Linked DNA regions of Homo sapiens: region 1 is linked to region 2. The links are contacts of gene promoters, found by promoter capture Hi-C in blood cells and fetal thymus (Javierre and others, 2016). All regions are on one chromosome and are shown on one strand. Each heading gives the region's core, a stretch centred on a gene start or on the middle of the fragment in contact. The rest is flanking DNA. Distances are from core to core; before and after follow the strand shown. Region 1 overlaps LOC105369313 (a long non-coding RNA gene). Region 2 holds the start of OR10W1 (olfactory receptor family 10 subfamily W member 1).

Region 1 (4,888 bases), core at 1,961-4,460, 240 kb before region 2:
GAAAAATAAATTTAGAAAATCTTTAGTGAGGCTATATTATTGGAAGTAGAATGTGGAAGACAATAAGTGATGGATGTTTTTATTTTTAATAATTAAATACATACAATCTTATATCCACATCATAATTTGTATTTATATGATGTAAATGTGTTAAAGAATTCAAGATGAATGTATGAACTTTAGATTCAGAAATATAAAGGGGTGAACTTTGATTCTGACCCCTAGATAGGCTATCTTGCTCAATATTCAGCTCCCTGAGCCTTAACTTCCTTATCTGTAAGATGGGCATAATAGCACCTATCTCATATGAATTAAAAGCTATAATATAACAGAGGGTTCTAGGATGAGTGTTACACACAGTACATTCTCTCTATACATTAGTTTTCTCCTTTTTTATCATTCCATCCTCCCTTCTCATACTTTCATTGGAATTTTGTTGACGCCTCTTCTTTAATCACCAGGCTAATTCAAGCTGGCCACAATGGAGAATAGCACAGAAGTGACAGAGTTTATCCTCTTGGGATTAACAGATGACCCCAATCTTCAGATACCCCTCCTCCTGGCATTTTTATTCATCTACCTCATCACCCTGCTTGGGAATGGGGGAATGATGGTGATCATCCACTCAGACTCCCATCTCCACACTCCAATGTACTTTTTCCTCAGTAACCTCTCCCTTGTAGACTTGGGTTACTCATCAGCTGTAGCCCCCAAAACGGTGGCTGCATTGCGGTCAGGGGACAAGGCCATCTCCTACGATGGATGTGCAGCTCAGTTCTTCTTCTTTGTGGGGTTTGCCACTGTTGAGTGCTACCTCCTGGCCTCCATGGCCTATGATCGCCATGCAGCGGTATGTAGGCCTCTTCATTACACCACCACCATGACAGCAGGTGTGTGTGCCCTCCTTGCTACTGGTTCCTATGTCTCTGGCTTCCTCAATGCCTCTATCCATGCAGCAGGCACCTTCAGACTCTCCTTCTGTGGTTCTAATGAGATTAATCATTTCTTCTGTGACATTCCCCCACTCCTGGCTCTCTCATGCTCTGACACACGCATCAGCAAGTTGGTGGTCTTTGTGGCAGGCTTCAACGTCTTTTTCACCCTCCTGGTCATCCTTATTTCTTACTTCTTCATATGCATCACCATTCAGAGGATGCATTCTGCTGAAGGGCAGAAGAAAGTCTTCTCCACCTGTGCTTCCCATCTCACTGCTTTGTCCATCTTCTATGGCACAATCATCTTCATGTACTTACAGCCCAACTCCAGCCAGTCCGTGGACACAGACAAAATAGCCTCTGTGTTTTACACAGTGGTGATTCCCATGCTGAATCCCTTGATATACAGCCTTAGGAACAAAGAAGTGAAAAGTGCTCTCTGGAAAATACTCAACAAACTTTACCCCCAATATTAAATGTGAATGGGAAGTAGGCAAGCAATTAAGGGATAAACTTTCTCTCACACCTAAATGCCATCATGACTTTTAACGTTTGACTGGTTTCAGTTCTTTCTTCCCCAAGAACAGCGGTTACTTCTGCTATTAGAAGATGTAAAAAGCAGCACGTTGAAAGTCTTACTTAGAAAGATAATCTTATATTTAGTGAACAACAACATGGGACAGTTAAGCTTTTCTTGCTTTAGTTTCTTGACGTGGTTTAAAGCAGAAGATTGAAGCATACAAATGAATGTACCAAATTTTCCTCATCCTGTTTTTAATTGTAAGAATTTTTCATTCACTATTAAACTTGGTGTAAAGATTTCACCTTCATTTTTATCAACTGAACACACAGTATCTTTTTTATTCTTTTGTTCTGCGAGTTTGAAAGTTGGACTTTCTGAGGTAGACAAAGGATGTTTCAATATTTTAAATGATATTTGAGAGAAAGTTGTAATTTAAAGGACAAGGCACTAGATCGAGTCAGGTAGCTGACGATTAAATCTTTCCAACCCCTTACTCTCCCTTCTCTACCCACATTCCTATCCTACTCACTAGTCATGTGCCTTTGTAATTTCCATTCCCTTTTGCTAAATCATTGGGGAAACATTACACCTTGTTATATACAGAAATATGGGAATGCTTTAATAGATGAATTACTTCAACTTTAACCTGACTAAATACAACTTCCTTCGGAGAGCCTACACTATCTTTTATGTTTCTTGTCTCTGTCTAACATAATTACCAAAACTTCCAGAAGGTTTAGAGAAAAAAAGCAGTTTTCCCTAGAGCTATGAAAAAATATATTTGTTTTCTGAATTAAATGCTTGCATTTCTTAGCACCCTTAAGTTTGGTGAATCTATTATGAAGATATATAATAGCTTTCTGGACTGTCTTTGCTTTTACTTTTTCAATAATTCAGCTCACCTCTGGGTCTCCATTGCATTCCGGTGTTCTGTAATTAGATGCTACAAGAATAAAAAAGCCTGCCTGGAAATTTACTTCTTAGGAACAGCACGGTGACGCACAGTGCTAGTACACCTTCAGGTCTTGTTTCATGTGCTAGATGGTGTGAGCAAATGTGTGTGTGTGGGAAGGGAGTGGTGATTAATTTCACTTCTCACGTATCAACTCCTTGATGGTGTTTATAACTACAGTTAATCTAAGTCACCACAATAGATCATGATTTCAAAATCTCCCCAAAAAACCCAACAAATTAATTTTGACCTTATAGATGAAAACCAGAAATCTTGGTTGGCTAACTCAGTTGGCTTAAAATGTCAATTTAGTTTTCAGATTATCAAGCTCCATTATGTACAGGGCAGCCTCTGTCTGAGGAGGATAAATCATAAGTCTTCTGGGAAAAATTGCAAAGAAGGAGTTATGGAACATGAGAAACATGAGAATAGCTTTCTCTGGCACATGGTTGCCATCACCTGAAAAGATCAGGAGCTTCTGAGCCCAAGGCCTAGACAACCTATACCTCCCCCATTCAGCCCCCTCCCTCCCCTCTTCTTTAGCAATGAGGCCTATTCAGCAACACACAGGAAGAACAGCCTTTACAGGCCAGGATCCACTGCATATAGGAATCTTTCTCATTGAAATCTACAGAGCTCAAGAGTATCTGCATTTGGAGAAGAGCCTGGGAAGCAGCTATCCAAGCACTGGGTGCATTCCAATCTCAGGTACACATTTTCCCTACTTGATATAATTGACTTTTTTCCCTCCTCATCCTGCTCCTCCTTCTTTACTTCATTTTATCCTTCTCCTCTTTTTCTTTCCCAACTTCTTTCTATGCCCAGCCCAAGCAGGAACTTTCCTCACCACTAGGCCATTTAGATTTCTATAAAAAAATTAAAGTCTAGAGTCTATATATCATAACCATTACAGTATATATTAAGATGTGTATCTGGGCATGTTTATTTCTTTTATGGTTTTAATTTTTATTTCATTAGTTTTGGGGGTACAGGTTGTTTTTGGTTACATGGATAAGTCCTTTAGTGGTGGTTTCTGAGATTTTAATGTGCCCATCACCCGAGCAGTGTGCCCAATATATAGTCTTTTATTCCTCACCTCCCTCCCAACCTTCCCCCATCGAGACCCCAAAGTCCATTTTATCATTCTTATGGACATATTTTGTTATGCCTCTATACCTCAGTTTAGGCAGGAAAATGTGGGCCTCCTGAGATTTAAGGGCTCAATGTCTACATATTTATATTTTATGTTGAAATCACCTCAAACAAGTGTTCTATCTGACTGTAAATAGGTATAAAAGAGTACTATCAAAAGCTGGATGAAAATTCTAACTGTTCTTATCAATTGTGTGACCTCAAGAAAGTCATTTAGTCTTACTGAACCCAATATACAGGATAAAGTGTGAGGGTAATATGAAATTAAGTATGTGAATGTGCCCATCATAATGAATGTGTATTTCATACCATTGAGATTTCTATACTAGCTCTTTCTTCACTTAGCTCTCCCTGGACTTCTTATTTTGGCTCTTGAGCTGCCTGAGCAAAAATAGGAAGTCCAAGGACTGATAGGTGAAGCTCGTCCCATCCAAATCCTAGCTTTTATTTTCATTCCTTGTTTAACTTCCTGCCCTCCAAGTTCCCAGCTCTACAGCAGACATATTTCAAGCTGACATTACACGGGTATTCATTTATAGAAACTACTCAGAAGGAGATGTCCTGTCGCCAGCAAGACATCAATTCACAGAGTATACGTTACTGCAAGGAGCTCTTCCCTTCCACATAGGAAATCTGTCAAATGGAGACTAAATGCCCATTTGGTTAATAACAACACCCACTTGCTCCCTGCAGGAATTGTCTGATGAATGAGAGACCTTGTGCGTAGGGCCTGCCGCTCAATGCAGTGCAATAAAGGCACAGGGACTTCCTACCTGAAATGTTCAAAAAAGAATGTGAAAATTCATAAATCAGGGCAGTTATTTATATCAGGATAGATTATTCTTTCAAAAATGGATTATGATTGAATTATTCTAAATAGGATGTTCCCTTTGTGCATTAAAGCATTTGTTGAGGTTTATGTATTGGGAGTGGAAAATTAAAATATTAAATTCCTTGGCAATTGAAGCTGGAATTGCGGAGTCATAGACTCTTTAGCCAAAAGCTGAAAGAATTTAAAACTAATCTAAACCAATCCTCTCATTTCACAATTAAAAACCCCGATTTTTACAGTTTAACTTGCTTAAACTCACAAAGAACCAAATCTTGTTTGACCCTTTTTTATATTTTATAAAGTACTTGTGGTATAAAAAGAAATTTTATACTTTTACCTTCATTTATTCACCATGATATAGTTATTTGTGCTTCAGTTTTGCAGTGGAGGAAACCAAAGCTTTGAGAAGTTAACTTACCTGTCTACTGTTAAAAAGAGGAACCGAGGTGTGAAACTGAGTTTTTGCCTTCCCTGACCAAGACTCTGAAAAAATA
Region 2 (4,775 bases), core at 186-2,685:
TTATATAAGGACTCCTAAACAAGTGATTTGATTATGAATAATCTTAAATCTTTCATTGCACGGCAAAGTGAAAGTAGAAAATGAAGAAAATGTATAAATAACATTTTCAAGCTGTATTATCCATTCGACATATAATTATTGAGTGTCTAAAATTTGCACAACATTAGGCGTGCTTATATGGGATGATCAAAATGTAAATAAAGCAGAATGGCTGCCCTTGAATTTATAAATAATAATGATGATTATCTTTTATTAGGTTGCCATTACTATGGACAGTTCATTGTGATATCTTACATTACTATTGCATTTAAACTTACAGCAATTCTTTTGTCTAAGTATAATTATTATTCCCATTTTTCAAATACAGAAATTGAGGCTTAGAGAAATTATATATTACCTAACATCATGAAGCCAGGAGCTGGAATTATTCAAACCACATCACTTCCCTTCACTGCTGATTTCACATTGATACACTGCCCCTCCTCCACATGATATAGTATAATGTGCAATATGCTAAGTGGCATTAGAAACCACTCAAAGCATTATTGAAGTTCAGCTCAGGAAAAGAGACCAACTGAAATAGATACCACTTGTTAGCTGTTGGAAAAACAGCAGAGAGCCATTTCTGCCCTAGGTGCTCTTAATATTTGTAGCTGCCTACTCATATTTTTCCCCATGCTTGTGACACTGAGGTGGGTTTGTGTGAATAATTTTTACTGGAAGTGGTGCCTCTGGGTAGAGATTTCTCTTCAAATCTCATATTCAATGACAGGAAATATTAAAATTTGGCACGTTGAAACAAGGCCACACATTACGTCTTTTCCACCTTATTTAATATGAGTTGGTCTGGGAAAAGAAGTGGAATGGATGCCCTTTGCAAATTACGTCTGTTTATTAAAAGGTTTTTGTGGAAAAGATATGGCTTCTCCCAGATTTCACATTAGCTTCTGAGAAATATGAAAAATAGATGGGCTTAGACTTTCATAATCATGCCCAAATTCACAGGAAGGCTTCTTAGATTTCCAACATCTTGGGATCACATATTTTCTCATACCTCCACCCACGCCAGGAGGAAACATATGATAAAACACCTTGTTTCCTTCAAGCCTTATACTTCTGGTCAGATAAGGATAGAAAAACCAATAGTAGACAGGGCTTTGCTTTCTGAGGCGTATCCCTGACACTGTCATACTCAGGCCTCTGTTAGCCCTTTGCTTCATGGGTAATTTTTTTTCTTTCTTCACTTCCCATCACTAGTTTTGAGAGTTACATTGACATATCACTTATTCAATACCCCAGGAGATATTGAGTGTAAATATTAGGTTGGTGCAAAAGTAATTGCAGTTTTTGCCATCAAAATGGCAAAACCGCAACTACTTTTGCACCAACCTAATAAATATGTGAATGAATAAGTGAATGAATAAATGGCTTATCTCCCTTACCTTAATGATTTCTAGCCCCAAGAATTCCTTGACACTTTCTTGTGAATTTGCTGAAAGAATTGAATTTTCATTCCACTCTTTCTGAAAATAGCTCCTGAATCCCACCCACTTCCTCTGCCATTTTTCTTCAATAGTATCTTACATAGTTTGGCCCAACTCTTGGCAGGTAGAAATTGAGGTGTAGATATTAATGTGGAGAAACTTGGTAAAAGTGGAGAAAAGAAAAAGAACTAGTCTTGATCCTTCCAGTTTCTAACTCCAGTGCTGATTACATTAGATTCATGGCTCAGAGTGTAACTTAATTTATCTTCAGTCTGATTCTTCCTTCTGTACTTGTAGCTCTCCACAGAGAAATACTGTTAGCTCAATTACCTGGGAAAATCACTCAGTGTTGATGGAATTTGTGTTCCTGGCCTATCCCTCCTGCCCAGAACTGCATATTCTGTCCTTCCTTGGGGTCAGCCTGGTTTATGGTTTGATCATCACTGGGAACATTCTCATTGTGGTGTCCATTCACACAGAAACCTGTCTATGCACATCCATGTACTATTTCCTGGGCAGCCTTTCTGGGATTGAAATATGCTACACTGCAGTGGTGGTGCCCCATATCCTGGCCAACACCCTACAGTCAGAGAAGACCATCACTCTCCTGGGCTGTGCCACCCAGATGGCTTTCTTCATTGCACTGGGCAGTGCTGATTGCTTCCTCTTGGCTGCCATGGCCTATGACCGCTATGTGGCCATTTGCCACCCGTTGCAGTACCCTCTCCTCATGACATTGACTCTTTGTGTCCACTTGGTTGTGGCATCAGTCATCAGTGGTCTGTTCCTGTCCTTACAACTGGTGGCCTTCATCTTCTCTCTGCCATTCTGCCAGGCTCAGGGCATTGAGCACTTCTTTTGTGATGTGCCACCAGTCATGCATGTTGTTTGTGCTCAGAGTCACATTCATGAGCAGTCAGTGCTGGTGGCAGCCATACTAGCCATTGCTGTGCCTTTCTTCCTCATCACCACCTCCTACACCTTCATAGTGGCTGCTCTGCTCAAGATCCACTCGGCTGCTGGCCGCCACCGGGCCTTCTCCACCTGCTCTTCCCACCTCACTGTGGTGCTGCTGCAGTATGGCTGCTGTGCCTTCATGTACCTGTGCCCCAGCTCCAGCTACAACCCCAAGCAAGATCGGTTCATCTCACTGGTGTACACATTGGGAACCCCACTGCTCAACCCACTTATCTATGCCCTGAGGAACAGTGAGATGAAAGGGGCCGTAGGGAGAGTTCTTACCAGGAACTGCCTTTCCCAGAACAGCTAGGAAAGACGAGGGGACAGCCTATCAGGCAAGTATTTGGTTCCAGCCCACCAAATCTGTATGAAACTGAGATTTCTATCATTTGGTGTTAAAACTCATCTAAAAGATGGTATAAATTATATGGATACTGTTTATGTGTGCCAAAGATTTTTAAATATTTCTACAATTTGACTCTGTAATTTCTCTTCTTGGAAAGAACTACATGAGCATAAAGTGATATAAAGTGGCAAGTATAATACTTTGTCCAGTTACCAGCTGAGAAGAGATAGCTCACTCAATAGATTTTTAACTAAAAAAATATTTAAAAAGGGTTATCTGCAGTGGTTATAGGTAAGGAAACCAATAAAATGTGGCAGAGCACTAACACGCTAGCAATAGCAGGAAGCTTTCTCAGCCCTAGACTTAAAAGGTGTGCCATAGAAGAAGGGTGCAACATTATCAGAGTCCAGTGACAGTTAGATCTAAGCAGATAAACCACTTGGTAGAAACTGTGGCATCAGAAATAAAAAGAAACTATGACAGAACTATGGCCATGCAAGGAAGAGACAGGGAGGCAAATACCCCAGCGTCTCTTTGCTCAAAATCTTCCATTTCTTGCCCTGTCTCCATGGACCAAACTCAACTGGCAGCAAGAAGGGAGGGGAGACTGGGTGAATCAGTCCACAGAAGTCAGTCTCCTAGGGCACAGGGAAAGGCAGACAAAAACCTAGAGAACCAGGGTCAAACAGAGAACAATCAGAACAAATTTGTTGTTTATTATAGCATCATACATAAAAATGAAAATAGGCCAGTTGCGGTGGCTCATGCCTATAATCCCAGGACTTTGGGAGGCTGAGGTGGGCAGATCATGAAGTTAAGAGTTTGAGACCAGCCTGGCCAACATGGTGAAACCCCATCTCTACTAAAAGTACAAAAATTAGCCTGGCATGGTGGCGTGTGCCTGTAATCCCAGCTACTTGAGGGGCTGAGGCAGGAGAACCGCTTGAATCCAGGAGGCGGAGGTTGCCGTGAGCTGAGATTGCGTCATTGCACTCCAGCCTAGGGGACAGAGCGAGACTCCCTCGGTCTCAAAAAAAAAAAGAAAAGAAAAGAAAAGAAAAGAAAAGAAAGAAATTAATCCACTTCTCCTATAATAAAGTATTGGTTAAACAATTACTATGTAAAAAGATATTATTCAGCCTCAAATTTATATTTTCAAATACTAGTTATTAGTAATAGATAATATTAAGTGCTTCCTGTGTGCCAGAAATACATATTCTATCAATCTTCAAAAAGCTCATTAAGACTATTATCTCTGTTTTTTATATAAATGGGAGAGTTCTCAGAAAACAGACCCTGACAGTGAAACCAATATAGTAGGTTCCACTTACCTGCAGGTTTACTTTCCACAGTTGCAGTTACCCGCGGTCAATGCAATATAAAAATATTAAATAGAAAATTCCAGAAATGAGCAATTTGTAAGTTTTAAATTGTGTCCTGTCCGGAGTAAAGTGTTGAAATTCCAAGCCATCCTGCTCTATCCCACCTGGGAAATGAATCGTCCCTCCCTTTGTTCAGCATATCCACATTGAATACACTACCCATCTGTTACTATGTATAGAGTTCAGTACTATCCACAGCTTCAGGCATCTACTGCAGGAGTCGTGGACTGTATCCCCCTTGGACAAGGTAAGGGGGGACTATTGTATCTGTACATAACTATGGATCAGGAAACCAGTCCTAGGGAACATAATTGAGCTGTAATAAAGGAAGATTCTCTGCTGCCAGAGTGGAGGATACCAATAATGTGCCAAATTGGATTCAAAATTGCTACGGAATAGTGACTGCATTGTGCCTCCTGTTTCTCACCCTTTTGAATGGAGGTGTCTATTCTCATGTAAATATGGAGTTGATGCTAAGTACAAGATCCTCAATTTTGAGCCTGGATTGTAAATTTTATCTTTAAGATTTGTTTTATGGCACAACATATGTTTCATTCTGACATCCCACGTGTGTCCTGTGGATGTTGAGTGAAATCCATTAAG

Evidence for each region. The method cuts DNA at HindIII sites, captures the fragments that hold promoters and counts their contacts. A CHiCAGO score of 5 or more calls a contact.
Region 1: a fragment that was not itself captured here is called in contact with the fragment with the promoter of OR10W1 in region 2 in 1 of 17 cell types (endothelial precursors); the score reaches 5.8 in endothelial precursors.

Annotation. Positions count from the first base shown.
Region 1 is chr11:58,503,699-58,508,586 of GRCh38, reverse strand. LOC105369313 (a long non-coding RNA gene) reads left to right here. Exons shown (of 5, transcript XR_007062673.1): 3 at 3,045-3,118. It overlaps OR5B21 (olfactory receptor family 5 subfamily B member 21), which reads left to right and starts at 482. Exons shown (of 1, transcript NM_001005218.3): 1 at 482-1,780. The coding sequence starts at 482. The coding sequence ends at 1,411. The HindIII fragment of the contact is 3,170 bases long and covers 1,626-4,795 here.
Region 2 is chr11:58,264,920-58,269,694 of GRCh38, reverse strand. It overlaps OR10W1 (olfactory receptor family 10 subfamily W member 1), which reads left to right and starts at 1,435. Exons shown (of 1, transcript NM_207374.3): 1 at 1,435-2,903. The coding sequence starts at 1,837. The coding sequence ends at 2,754. The HindIII fragment of the contact is 7,272 bases long and covers 1-3,138 here.